Linked DNA regions of Homo sapiens: region 2 is linked to region 1. The links are contacts of gene promoters, found by promoter capture Hi-C in human tissues and cell types (Jung and others, 2019). All regions are on one chromosome and are shown on one strand. The core of a region is centred on a gene start or on the middle of the fragment in contact, and the rest is flanking DNA. Distances in the headings are between cores, read along the strand shown. Region 1 holds the start of SMARCB1 (SWI/SNF related BAF chromatin remodeling complex subunit B1). Region 2 holds the start of LOC124905088 (a long non-coding RNA gene).

Evidence for each region. The method cuts DNA at HindIII sites, captures the fragments that hold promoters and counts their contacts. A contact is called where the count stands out against the background at its distance.
Region 2: a contact is called between a fragment that was not itself captured here and the fragment with the promoter of SMARCB1 in region 1, in 1 of the 25 tissues and cell types used here (spleen).

The regions. Positions count from the first base shown.
Region 1 is chr22:23,784,147-23,791,221 of GRCh38, forward strand. It overlaps SMARCB1 (SWI/SNF related BAF chromatin remodeling complex subunit B1), which reads left to right and starts at 2,820. Exons shown (of 9, transcript NM_003073.5): 1 at 2,820-3,116. The coding sequence starts at 3,024. MMP11 (matrix metallopeptidase 11) reads left to right here. Exons shown (of 8, transcript NM_005940.5): 8 at 1-170. The HindIII fragment of the contact is 20,978 bases long and covers 1-7,075 here.
Region 2 is chr22:23,730,300-23,737,374 of GRCh38, forward strand. LOC124905088 (a long non-coding RNA gene) reads right to left here and starts at 3,303. Exons shown (of 2, transcript XR_007068020.1): 1 at 2,835-3,303; 2 at 1-1,578. The HindIII fragment of the contact is 4,384 bases long and covers 1,880-6,263 here.

The DNA.
Region 1 (7,075 bases), core at 1,570-4,069:
GGAGGCTGCAACATACCTCAATCCTGTCCCAGGCCGGATCCTCCTGAAGCCCTTTTCGCAGCACTGCTATCCTCCAAAGCCATTGTAAATGTGTGTACAGTGTGTATAAACCTTCTTCTTCTTTTTTTTTTTTTAAACTGAGGATTGTCATTAAACACAGTTGTTTTCTACCTGCCTGCTTGGTCTCCTTTTGTGAATGTTCAGCCAGGATGGGGAGGCCTGGCCACTGTCCAGCCCTATCCTGGGAGCCAGGGTCGAAGTCCACCACCCCCAAGCCTCTGGCCCTTGGGGCTGGGCACAGTGCTCAGGGCTCCTTCTGCTCCATTTCTACATCACATTTTGCTACAGTGGCTTCTTAACTGGCTCCCCACTTTCCTACTTGTCCCCTCTGTTCATCCTCCAGAGTGGTGGTTTATCTGCTCATGCCACAGCCCAGCCTGCCATACATAGCTGTGGTTTCTGCATCCGTAGGCTCAACTAACCTCGGGTAGAAAAAACAATGTTTAAAAAAAGGATGCGGACGGGCGCAGTGGCTCGTGCCTGTAATCCCAGTTCTTTGGGAGGCCGAGGTGTGTGGATCACCTGAGGTCAGAAGTTTGAGACCAGTCTGGCCAACATGGTGAAAACCCATCTCTACTAAATATACAAAAATTAGTTGGGTGTGGTGGCTCATGCCTGTAATCCCAGCTACTTGGGAGGCTGAGGCAGGAGAATCACTTGAACGTGGAGGCAGAGGTTACAGTGAGCTGAGATAGTGCCATTGCACTCCAGCCTGGGTGACAAGAGCAAAATTCCGTCTAAAAAAATAATAAAGTAAATAAATAGGCTGGGTGCAGTGGCTCATGCCTGTAATCCCAGCACTTTGGGAGGCTGAGGCCAGCAGATCACGAGGTCGGGAGATCGAGACCATCCTGGCTAACACCATGAAACCCCGTCTCTACTAAAAATACAAAAAATTAGCCAGGCGTGGTGGCGGGCGCCTGTAGTCCCAGCTACTCGGAAGGCTGAGGCAGGAGAATGGCGTGAACCCAGGAGGCGGTGCTTGCAGTGAGCCCAGATCATGCCACTGCACTCCAGCCTGGACGACAGAGCAAGACTCTGTCTCAATAAAATAAGTAAATAAATAAATAAATAAATAAATAAATAAGGGATGGTTACCTCTGTACTGAACATGTACGGACTTTTTTCCCTATCATTGTTCCCTAAACAATAGTATAACAACTATTTATATAACATTTGCATTGTATTAGGTAGTATAAGGAATCTAGAGATGATTTAAGGTATACAGGAAAGTGTGTGTAGGTTATATGCAAGTATGACACCATTTTATATAATGGACTTGAGCATCTGTGGACTTTATTATCTGCAGGGGGTCCTGGAACCAATTCCCATGGATACTGAGGGATGACTGTACTTTGGTTTCCCACCACTGTGAGGATACAGAACAAAGCAACTTCAGTCACTGCCCTTCCCAACTCTCCAGTGTCTCCTTGCCCTACCTTCCAGCCCCATGTGTGTCTTCGTAATAGCATAGTTGCATTTTTTTTTTTTTTAAGAGAGGCAGGGTCTCCCTTTGTTGCCCAGGCTGCAGTGCAGTGGTGCAATCAGCTCACTATAACCTTGAACTCCTGGGCTCAAGGGATCTTCCCCTCTCCACTTCCCAAGTAGCTGGGGCTACAGGTGCACACCGCCATGCCACACCCAGCTTATTTATTTTAGAATTTTTGTAGAGACAGGGTCTTGCTGTCTTGTCCAGTCTGGTCTCAAACTCCTGGCTTCAAGTGATCCTCCCTGCCTTGGCCTCCTAAAGAGTTGGGATTACAAGGCCGGGCGCAGTGGCTCACACCTGTAATCCCAGCACTTTGGGAGGCCGAGGGGGGCGGATCACGAGGTCAGGAGATCGAGACCATCCTGGCTAACATGGTGAAACCCTGTCTCTACTAAAAATACAAAAAATTAGCTGGGCGTGGTGGCGGGTGCCTGTAGTCCCAGCTACTTGGGAGGCTGAGGCAGGAGACTCCAGCCTCAAAAAAAAAAAAAAGAGTTGGGATTACAGGCATGAGCCGCTGAGCCCAGCCACAGCTGCAATTTCATTAGATTGAACGGTGTGAAATCATCAGTAGTGGGCCACTGTTTTACTCCCTGCATTATTCAATCATGATTGCTTTCAGACTTTCATTAGTTTCACTAGCTTCGCGCTGTAAGAGCCAAGAGGCAGAGCCACAGGGCTGGGCTGCCTGGTTTCACTCCCCACTGCAGGGCTCGGTTAAGCAGAGTGTAGGCTAAGAGAGGAATGGAGAAGGTGGAAGGTGTCTCTCCCTTCCAACGCTCATCTGATGCACCAGCCAAACCAAATACCACCTGGGCCTTTGAACATTGCCAAGCCTCATCCGCTGTTGTCATTTTGCCCACCTCCACAGCTGCAGGGACAGCCGTAGGCCCGGAACTGGGATATCTCTTCCTAGGGGCCTGCCTATCTGCTCAGCTGCACTGCGTTTTAGGGGTGGGGAAGCTAAGGCACGAGATTGGGGTCCCAAAGCATGCCCAGACCACCCAGGCTTCCAGATACTAGGTCCTCCTCCTTCAGGCCTCACTTCGTTGCTTTTCCCCTGGGCTCAGTTCCAGTCCTGGCTGTAAGACTGGGAAAGCCACTGCTTGAGTCAGGACCTCATTGGCTATTTTTGTCCGTGAGAAGTCCTCTACACCACGACTTGGGAGGCAGCCTGGGAGAAAGAGAAATTAGTCGTGGCTCCTTTAAGGGGTCCGCGGAGGCGCGCCCGGCCTTTTGTTTGAGCGGCGGCGCGCGCGTCAGCGTCAACGCCAGCGCCTGCGCACTGAGGGCGGCCTGGTCGTCGTCTGCGGCGGCGGCGGCGGCTGAGGAGCCCGGCTGAGGCGCCAGTACCCGGCCCGGTCCGCATTTCGCCTTCCGGCTTCGGTTTCCCTCGGCCCAGCACGCCCCGGCCCCGCCCCAGCCCTCCTGATCCCTCGCAGCCCGGCTCCGGCCGCCCGCCTCTGCCGCCGCAATGATGATGATGGCGCTGAGCAAGACCTTCGGGCAGAAGCCCGTGAAGTTCCAGCTGGAGGACGACGGCGAGTTCTACATGATCGGCTCCGAGGTAGCCCGGGGCGCGTTCTCGCCCTCCCCGGGCTCGGCCCCGCGGGAGCCCCGGGGCGGGCCCATGCGCCGAGAGCGCGCGTCTCCATTCATCGGGGCGGGCGGGCGCGCGCGCGCGCGCTCGGGGCTGTGGGGCGTGGCCTAGTGGGCGTGTCGGGTGTGGCCCCCGCCCCCTCATCGACCTGGGATTTCCTTACTTATTTCGCCGAGGTCCGCCGCCTTCAGTGCTGCCAAGATTTTGGCGCCGCGAGGGGCCCCAGTGGTTCCGCGCTGGGTTGGTTTCCAGTCAGACGCAAAGAAACGGGATATTGAGTTAGCCCCTGCGACGCTTGGGGGACTGCACTGCTGCCTTTGACCCTTTTTAGATGTCGTAAATTTCACGTGCACCCCTCCCCGTATTGCTACTTGTGGGAACCTCAAATGGCAGGCTGGAAACCCTGGACTTAGTGAGGGCTCATCCCCATTGTGTTTGTTGCCTCTTAGGTGAGCAGTGGAGGTCTTTTGACCTTTGTTTACCGGTGAAGAAACAGATTGGAGGAAGATGTTTGCTTTTGGGTGAATAAGGGCCCCATGCCTAAGCTAGATCTTTCAGCAGTTCTGAAGCGATTGACACTTTCCATATCTGTGAACTGATTCTGAATTATTACAGGGGAAAGAGCCTAAGGATGTTTAACCCTTAACTAGAGTGGCTGCATTTTGTTGCATCAACTGGATGACTGACTTCAGGAAAACTCTACTGGCCTTTGAATGGGTGTTTGTTCCAAGTCTATTAGGTTCTTGTTTTTTGTTTTTTATAGAGACAGGGTCTGGCTATGTTGCGCAGGCAGGTCTCCAACTCCTGGGCTCAAGCAGTCTGCCCGTCTGGGTCTCCCAAAGTGCTAGGATTACAGGCATGAGCCACCACACCCGGCCATATATTAGGTTTTTACAGATTGTCTCAAACTAGCCTTTTTTGCTCCAAAGGCAGTCCCCAGCTAGTATATGTTACCTTTTTAAAAAAATTATGGATATACAGTTCAGATGTACAAATGTCAAGCAGTAGAATCTCATGTAAGGAAGTAAGTGCCAATCCTGGAGAATTAAAGCTATCATGAAATGCCAAGAGTTTCTTCTCCTTATAGCAGTTTTTAGTATCATATTCCAGCATTTTATTCGTACTTTATTTTCTTTTATTTTTGAAAAAAGATCTCACTTTGTGCAGTGGTGTGATCTCGGCTCACTGCAGCCTTGACCTCCTGGGCTCAAGCGATCCTCCTGCCTCAGCCTCCCAAGTACCTGGGACTACAGGTGTGCACCACCGTGCCCGACTAATTTTTGTATTTTTTGTAGAGACAGGGTTTTGCCATGTTGCCCAGGCTGGTCTTGAACTCCTGGGCTCAAGTGATCCTTGCACCTCAGCCTCTCAAAGTGCTGGAATGACAGGTGTGAGCTACTGCACTCACACTCAGCGCATTCATACTTTTTAAACTTGTGGGTTTTATCCTTCACAATTGAGCATAGCATGAATGAATGAAGCCTCAAGATGGTCACACTGAGTCCCATGGATGAGACTAAGGTCAATAGCATCAGAACTTTAGTGTTAGCATTTTCCACCATTTTTTTTTTCTGGACGAGGTTTGACTCTATCACCCAGGCTGGAGTGTAGTGGTGTAATCTCGGCTCACTGCAACCTCCGCCTCCCAGGCTCAAGCCGTCCTCCCACCTCAGTCTCCCAAGTAGCTGGGACTACACGCACACACCACCACACCCGGCTAATTTTTATATTTTTAGTAAAGATGGGGTTTTACCATATTGTCCAGGCTGGTCTTAAACTTGTGAGCTCAAGTGATCTGCCCGCCTCGGCCTCCCAAAGTGCTCGATTATAGGCGTGAGCCACTGTGCCTGGCCTCCACTAATTTTTATAAAACAAAAAATATAGGATTCAATAAAATTTTCACGTTGTCACTTAAATTACAACTGTTCAAAGATGCCAGTGCTGGGGAGGTAGAGCCAGTGCCTGTCCATCTGCCACAGTTCAGAATGGTCCTCATTGGCCAGTAGGCACCTGCCTAACTGCAGAATGCAAAAGGTGTCAAATTTCAGCCTGTGATACTAGGCGAGTTGTTTACCTGATCTAATGGGTGTAAAAGTAATCAGTTTGGCTCTAAGTAGGTGACACTTCAAAAGAAAGCTTTCATTTATTAGTTGGAGCAAATTGAGAAGCTGTGCGTGGCCAAGTGGGAAGAACCTTGGGAGGCCTGGTTCCAGCCCTGCTCTGCCTTGCTGTCGTGTTTCTCATGTGTATAATGTGATGCTTAGACTAGATGGTCTCCAAGATCTTCCCCAAAACACATTTTAGTTTCTAGAAAGCTAATTACAGTCTTGTCTTTCAGCCCCTTGACTCCTGGGCCTCCCAGTAAGAATAATCTTCCTGAGACCCAGGCTGTAAGAGACTCAGTTGGAGAGGCAGTTTGTTCTTTTGGGCCTGACTTAATCATCAGACCTTCGGAGTTTAGGGAAGAGTTCAAGGTCAGAGCTCTATTGAAATTCAGTAGCTCCAGTGATAGTAGTGGATGGACGGTCTCAGCCCACTGCCCTGTGGAAAACAGGCACTGTATTCAGAGAGGTGGGCCAGCCATAGCAACATACCCAGTGCCTCCATGCGCCATCTGTGGAGCTGTCTTGGGAAGGCATCTGCATTTACTAAGAGTGTGTGTCACTGTTCTGCCATTAACAGACAGCTGTATTTACCAAGCCGGAGTCATGGAGCTTTGAGGACCCTAACAGATCCCCAAGTCCAGCACCTTGATTTTATATTCAGGAAACCTGGGTCCCAAGAGGGTGAAGGCTGGTTCAGAGGAAAGCCAGGAAGGCAAGCCCAGTTTCCTAAGTTCTGAAGGGGCTTTGGGGGGCATCTAGGAGACTCAGAGCCCTGCAGGGCCTGCAAGGTAGTCATAGGGGGGAGTATTGTCAATTTCTTTTAAAAAACCTAATGGAAACTCTACATTTACCATGATACTGGATGATACTGACACACAAGCCAAATAACATAGAGGGGTCTGTGCCCTCTATGTGGAAAGCGAGTGACTTGCTGTGTCTGCTCTTCTCTCAGCGTTCAGTAGCCCTGGTTGTTGATTACAGTCACTGCTGAAAATGGAGAAACATTTTATTTAATACTATGCCTGGGTCTCACACCTATAATCCTAGCACTTTGGGAGGCCCAGGCAGGAGAATCACTTGAACCCAGGAGTTTAAGACCAGCCTGGGCAACATAGTGAGACTCTTGTCTCTACAGATTTTTATTTTTATTTTTTTTAATTAGGCCGGGTATGTGGCTCACACCCGTAATCCCAGCACTTTGGGAGGCCGAGGTGGGCAGATCGCTTGAGCCCAGGAGTTTGAGACCAGCCTGGGCAACATGGTGAAACTCCGTCTCTACAAAAAATACAAAAATTAGCCGGTTGTGGTGGCAAGCAACTATAGTCCCAGCTACTCAGGAGGCTGAGGCAGGAGGATCGCTTGAGCCGAGGAGTTCGAGGCTGCAGTGAGCTATGATCGATCGCACCACTGCAATCGAGCCTGGGTGACAGAGCGAGACCCTGTCTCAAAAATAATAATAAAAATTAAAAATAAATTTAAAAATGCAAAATATATACTATGTTGCGTAGATAAAATGGGAAACATAATAGAAGTGGTCCTTCATGGGGGTGAAGTTCAGAGTTGCTGAGCATTTGGCAGATGAGTAAAGGGTACCCAGAAAATGGGAAGTGATCCCAGGTTACAGATGGAGCCAGCACCTGGCACCCAGTCTATTGGCCATCCCCTGCAATGTGACTCCGAAGTGATCATACTTGAAAAGTCAACGAGACAATAGGGTACCCTCATAAAAACTTTAGGTCTAGATTTATTTTCCTTAAGGAAGTCACACTTTCAGTATTTGCTACAAGCAAACTGAAGCCATTGTTTGAGTCAGTGATGATT
Region 2 (7,075 bases), core at 2,822-5,321, 53 kb before region 1:
AAATTAGCCAGGCATGGTGGCATGCACCTGTGGTCCCAGCTTCTCAGGAGGCTGAGGCAGGAGGATCACTTGAGCCAGGAGTTGGAGGCAGCAGTGAGCTATGACCACAATACTGCACTTCAGCCTGGGTGACAGGGCAAGATGCTGTCACAAAAAAAAAAAAAAAAAAAAAAATTAAAGCCGGGTGTGATGGCTCACACTTGTATTCCCAACACTTTGAGAAGCCAAGGTGGAAGCATTGTTTGACCCCAGGAGTTCCAGACCAGCCTGGGCAATATAGTGCTATATCATCTCTACAAAGAATATTTAAACATTTAGCCAAGCGTGTTGGCAAAGGCCTGTGGTCCCAGCTACTTGGGAGGCTGAGGTGGAAGGATCACCTAGGCCCAGGTCAGGAAGGCTGTTGTGAATTGAGGCAGCGCCACTGCACTCCAGCCTGAGCAACACAATGAGACCCTGTCTCAAAATAAAAACAAAAACAAATCAACAAAAAAGAACTTTCCCTAGGCCAGTGTGGTGGCTCATACCTGTAATCCCAGCACTTTGGGAGGCCAAGGCAGGCTGATCACCTGAGGTCAGGAGCTCAAGACCAGCCTGGACTACATGGTGAAACCCTGTCTCTACTAAAAATATAAAAATCAGTTGGGTGTCGTGGTGCATGCCTGCAATCCCAGCTACTCAGAGGCTGAGGCAGGAGAATTGCTTGAACCTGGGAGGCAGAGGTTGCAGTGAGCCGAGATCGAGCCACTGCACCCCAGCCTGGGTGATAAAGTGAGATCCTGTCTCAAAAAAAAAAAAAAAAAAAAAAAAAGAACTTTCTCATTACTCCAGGGAGTTCCCTCTGACCCCTCCCAGTCAATCCACCTTCCAGCCCTGACCCAGGCAACCACTGATCTGCTCTGTGTCACTATGGATTAGATTTGGTGTTTCCAGAATTTTATATCAATAGAAGTATACGGGGCGCTCTTTTAGATCTGGCTTCTTCCACACAGCATGTTTTTGAGATTCATCCATTTTCTGCATGTTTTAGTATCTTGTTCCCAAGTATCACTTTTAGCAACAGAAAACAGAACAAATTTCATGAGTATATCAATTACACACCTTATTCAGGCAAGATTCTTTGAATCAATTTTATGACATGAAATGGTGTCTACCACTTTGCAGCTGCTGAAAAGAGACACATCCTCTTTCTTTCTTTCTTTCTTTCTTTTTTTTTGGAGACGGAGTTTCACTCTTGTTGCCCAGGCTAGAGTGCAATGGGACGATCTCGGCTCACCACAACCTCCACCTCCTGGATTCCCGGATTCAAGCGATTCTCCTGCCACAGCCTCCTGAGTAGCTGGGATTACAGGCGTGTGCCACCACGCCCAGATAATTTTTGCATTTTTAGTAGAGACAGGGTTTCACCATGTTGACAGGCTGGTCTCGAACTCCTGACCTCAGATGATCCACACGCCTCAGCCTCCCAAAGTGCTGGGATTACAGGTGAGAGCCACTGCGCCTTGGCTCTCTTTCTTGTCTCCCTGAAATTGCTTTTCTCTCACAACATTCTCAAGCTCGATATCAGTTTTCCATAAGCTGCAAAAAAAAAAAAAAAAAAAATTAAGGCCAAGGAGCTCAAAACCTAACATATGAAAAGGGAAAAGGCAAGATGGGAATTTTAAACAGGAGGAATGAGGGGCACATAATGTGTTTCTCGGTTCCACCTGATATAAATTCTTATCTGTAGCCTGAGAGCAGCATAGCAAGATCCCATCTCTACAAAAAAATACAAAAACTAGCCAGGAGTGCTGGTGCACACCTGTGGTCCCAGCTACTTAAGAGGTTGAGGCACAAGGATCTTGAGCCCAGATTGAGGCTGCGTAAGCTGAGATCACACCACTGCACTCCAGCCTGGGTGACAGAGTGAGACCCTGTCTCTAAATAAATAAATTAGCATGTGTTCCACTCACCTTCTCACATCTCCCTGATTAATCTTTGAAATTTGGCATAATCTGAAATTACCACTGAGCAGATATGGTGGCTCACGCCTGTAATCCCAGCACTTTGGGAGGCCAAGTCTGGAGGATCACTTGAGCCTAGGAGTTTGAGAGAAGCCTGGGCAACAGAGTGGGGCCCCATCTATAATAAAAATGTCGTTAAAGGTCAGGCGCAGTGGCTTATGCCTGTAATCCCAACATTTTGGGAGGCCAAGGCGGGCGGATCACGAGGTCAGGAGATCGAGACCATCCTGGGCAACATGGTGAAACCCTGTCCCTACAGGCGTGGTGCACGCCTGTAATCCCAGCTACTGGGGAGGCTGAGGCGGGGAATTTCTTGAACCCAGGAGGCAGAGGTTGCAGTAAGCTGAGATCGCACCACTGCACTCCAGCCTGGCAACAGAGTGAGACTGTGTCTCAAAAAAAAAAAAAAAAAAGTTGTTAAAATCAGCCGGGTGGCATGTGCACATAGTCCCAGCCACCTTGGAGGCTGAGGTAGGAGGATCGTTTGACCCCAGGTGTTTGAGGCTGCAGAGAGCTATGATCGCACCGCTTCACTCCAGCCTGGGCACCAGAGTGAGACTCTCTCTCAAAATAAAAAGAAAAAAGAAACAAATTACTTTGTTTATTTCTCTGAATGCCTGTGGTCTGCAATTCTGCAGCCTTTGCCTCCCAAGTAGCTGGGACTATAGGCGTGCACCACCATGCCCAGCTAATTTTTGTATTTTCAGTAGAGACAAGGTTTCGCCATGTTGGCCAGTCTGGTCCCGAACTCCTGGGCTCAAGCAATCCTCCCACCTCAGCCTCCCAAAGTGCTGGGATTACAGGTGTGAGCAACTGGCGCCCAGCCAATACCTGAAGTTCCAGCTCATCCATATTAACTGCTGGAGTATGTTCCATGGTGTGGATTCACCACTATCCTTTTCCTGTTGAGCATTTAGGCTGTTTTCATTTTTCACTTGTTCAATCAATGCTGCCATGTACACTCCAGCAGTACACTGCAGTAGTGGCTTGTGTGAGATTTCTCCAGGTGTGTCCTAGGGTTGGAGCTGCTGGGTTGCAGGGTCTGTTCATCTCCAAGGAGGTTGTCCACACCAGGGCTTTTACCGCCAGCTGCCTCACAATAGAGAAGCATCCAGTCACCAGGGCCTCCCTTGGCCCCATGCAGGTCCGGGTGTCCACCCCAATCAACAGTTTTGCTTATTTCTGGTCCACAAAAAGGTTTCAGTTATTTTGATCTTGGCTAGACCTTTTGGGGGTCTTTTTTTTTTCCTTGAGATGTAGTTTTGCTCTTGTTGCCCAGGCTGGAGTGCAATGGTGCAACCTTGGCTCACTGCAACCTCCACATCCCGGGTTCAAGTGATTCCCTTGCCTCAGCCTCCCAAGTAGCTGGTATTACAGAGGCCCGCCACCACACTTGGCTAATTTTTTTGTATTTTTAGTAGAGACGGGGTCTCACAACGTTGGTCAGGCTGGTCTCAAACTCCTGACCTCAGGTGATCCACCCACCTTGGCCTCCCAAAGTGCTGGGATTACAGGCATGAGTCAGCGTGCTCAGCCTATTATTACTGTAATAATATTTGTCATGCTGATCTATGACCGGTGATCCTTGATGTTACTATTGTATCAGTGCAAAAGTAATTGTGGGTTTTGTCATTAAAAGTAATGGCACTAGGCTGGGCCCTGCTCAGTAGCTTATTTGGTAAGCCGGTGGGTCCTGAAAGTTTGCTTTTTTTTTTTTTTTTTTTTTGGATATGAAGTCTCATTGTCACTAGGCTGGAGTGCAGTGGTGCGATCTCGGCTCACTGCAACCTCCGTCTCCCGGGTTCAAGCAATTCTTCTGCCTCAGCCTCCTGAGTAGCTGGGACTACAGGTGTGTGCCACCACGCCCAGCTAATTTTTTTGTATTTTTATTAGAGATGGGGTTTCTCCATGTTGGTCAGGCTGGTCTCGAACTCCCGACCTCAGGTGATCCGCCTGCCTCGGCGTCGCAAAGTGCTAGGATTACAGGTGTCAGCCACCACGACCAGCCGAAAGTTTGCATTTCTAGCAAGTTCCTGGGCAATAATTATGATGGCCAAGAATGACAGTCTGAGAACGACTGCTCTGGAAGATTTTATCTGTGACCCAGAGCTTTGACCCTTTTGGGGATTTGGTGTGTCATGTCCTTACTGCTGGAGTTTGCTTTAGTTAACAAAATCTGTCATTGCTCCCAAATCACTTGGTAGGGGTTATTCATTCTTCCTTGAGTTGAGCTTCTTTATCTTTGCTGTTAATAAAATGTAAGTTTCAAACATTTCTTTTTTCTTTTAGGGACAGGGTCTTGCTCTGTTACCCAGGCTGGAGTGCAGTGGTGCCATCACAGCTCACTGCAGCCTCCCACTGCTGGGTGTGGTGGTGGGCGCCTGTAGTCGTAGCTACACAGGAGGCTGAGGCAGGAGAATCGCTTGAACCTGGGAGGCGGAGGTTGCAGTGAGCCGAGATCGTGCCACTGCACTCCAGCCTGGGCGACAGAGTGAGACTCTGTCTCAAAAAAAAAAAAAAAAGAAAGAAAGGAAGGAAGCAAGGAAGGAAACAGAAAAGAAATGAAGCCTGACTTCAAGAAGTTCCAACATAGCATGGAGGAGGAGTGCAGGGAGCACGAGGGCGTGTGGGGGGGCGTCTCTGTTGGGAACTCAGGGAAGATGTTCTTGATCTGATTAATTATTCAACCAAAATGACAGGCTGGATTCTAGGCACTGGGAGTACCCTGAAGGGGCTTCTAGTAAACCTGTCCTCTGCATTGGGTCTTGGAAGATAGGGGGAATTTGCCCAAGGAAGAAGGGGAAAAGAACATTGCAGGCAGAGGGAGAAGTCTGGACAAAAAGGGTGACTGGCCTGCTTGAAGAACAGGAAGTCATCCAAGTGGCTATAACTATAACAAAAGGTAGGGAGGAGACGTGGAAAGAGTTTGGGGGAAGGCTGTGAAGAGCTTTGAATGTCAAGAGAGGGAGTTTGATCTTGGTCCTTTAGGTCATAGGGAGCCCCAGTCAATTTTAAAATCAGAAGAGCCAAATTTATTTTATTTTATTTTTATTTATTTATTTATTTTTAGACGGAGTTTCGCTCTTGTTGCCCAGGCTGGAGTGCAATGGCATGGTCCGGGCTCACTGCAACCTCTGCCTCCCAGGTTCAAGCGATTCTCCTGCCTCAGTCTCCCAAGTAGCTGGGATTACAGGCATGCGCCACCACGCCCAGCTAATTTTGTATTTTTAGTAAAGATGGGGTTTCTCAATGTTGGTCAGGCTGGTCTCAAACTCCTGACCTCAGGTGATCCACCCCCCTCGGCCTCCTAAAGTGCTGGGATTACAGGTGTGAGCCACTGCTCCCGGCCAAAACCCCATCTTAAAAAAGAAAGAAAGGAAGGAAGGAAGATAAATCTAGCTATAGTATTGAGCTATATGGGATGGAACAGAGGGAGAAAAAGAGACCAATGGCTGGAATGTGTTGTGGTTTGACGATTTCTAGCCCTGGCTCAACTTAAGAATGGAATTACTTGGAGTTCCCAGAATGGATCCAACTGTTTCAAGCCTTCCTAAATGCTCTTCCCTGTGCCTGGGATGCCCTTCCCTCAGTGTCGGTCTTGCTACCTCCCATTCATTCATCAGTATTCTAGCCAAACATCATCAATGTCAGGTAGGCTCCCAGTTGATCCAGGTGTCCAACTCTGGGCTCCCATGTGATCCTGAGTAGTACGGGCATTTAGCGATCTTTTCCTGATTTGGGAGCACTGTAGTAGTGCCTTCTGGGCCTTCTCCACCACCCAAGTGGTAAGCTCCTTGCAAGCAAAGCTTCGTCTGACACATTTTAGTGTCCTGACTCCAAGCCCTCTCCTGTCTTCCCCCACAGAAGCCCTAGAACTGGGCTGCAGCTGACCACTGGGAAGACAGGAAAGACTGTGAGACCAACTGTATGCCATGTGGTCCTGAAAAATGCGAAAATGGAGTGGCAAGTCCTGAGAGCCACCAGCTAGTGTCTGAGGCCTGGCATCCCTTTCTGGGAGGCCTCGTGTGAAAGCCAGTGGCATTCTGCAGATGTGAGGTCGTACTTCTGAATACGCAGCAAAATCCTGGGGCCAAATGCTTTGACAGATGAATTGAGGCTAGAAAGAGAGTTGGAGAAGTGGTTTGACAGCAGGGCTGTAACCACAATACCTAACATGGGTAAGTCACCAGGTGGCAGGCTCTGAGCTAAAATTCATCTCATTGCATCTTCATGACAGTACTGTTTATACATAAAGAAACAGAAGCTGGCCGGGCATGGTGGCTCACGCCTGTAATCCCAGCACTTTGGGAGGCCGAGGCGGGTGGATCACCTGAGGTAGGGAGTTTGAGACCAGCCTGACCAACACGGAGAAACCCCGTCTCTAATAAAAATACAAAATAAGCTGGGCATGGTGGCGCATGCCTATAACCCCAGCTACTTGGGAGGCTGAGGCAAGAGAATCGCTTGAACCCGGGAGGCAGAGGTTGTGGTGAGCCGAGATCTTGCCATTGTACTCCAGCCTGGGCAACAAGAGCAAAACTCTGTCTCCAAAAAAACAAAAGAAAAAAAGAAAAAAAAAAAAAACAGAAGCTGCAAAGGGTTAGGGGTTAGAGGACATGCACACAGGCACCCAGGTAGAAGGGGACACTCAGTCTGGCTGCCCAGATGACAGAAGAGAGATTGTCAGTCCAGGTTTCTTTGCAGCAAACAGCAAGCTTGCAAGCTTGGTATGTGCGGAGGCCACGCTGTAGGTATGGGGAAGAGAACTCAGGAAGAGGAGAAAGACAGGAAAGCAGCATAAAGGCTTGCAAAAAAATTAAAAACAAATAAAAAGCAGATGAGTCAAAAGAGTCTGCAGCTGAGTCCCTGACAGTCGACACTGAAATGGACATAAGCCTTTATCCTGAGGAAGCATCCTTGGCATTAAAGACTCATAGGAGGCCCAGGCGCAGTGGCTCATGTCTGTAATCCCAGCACTTTGGGAGGCTGAGGCTGGTGGATCACCTGAGGTCAGGAGATAGAGACCGGCCTGGCGAACATGGGGAAACCATGCCTCTACTAAAAATACAAAA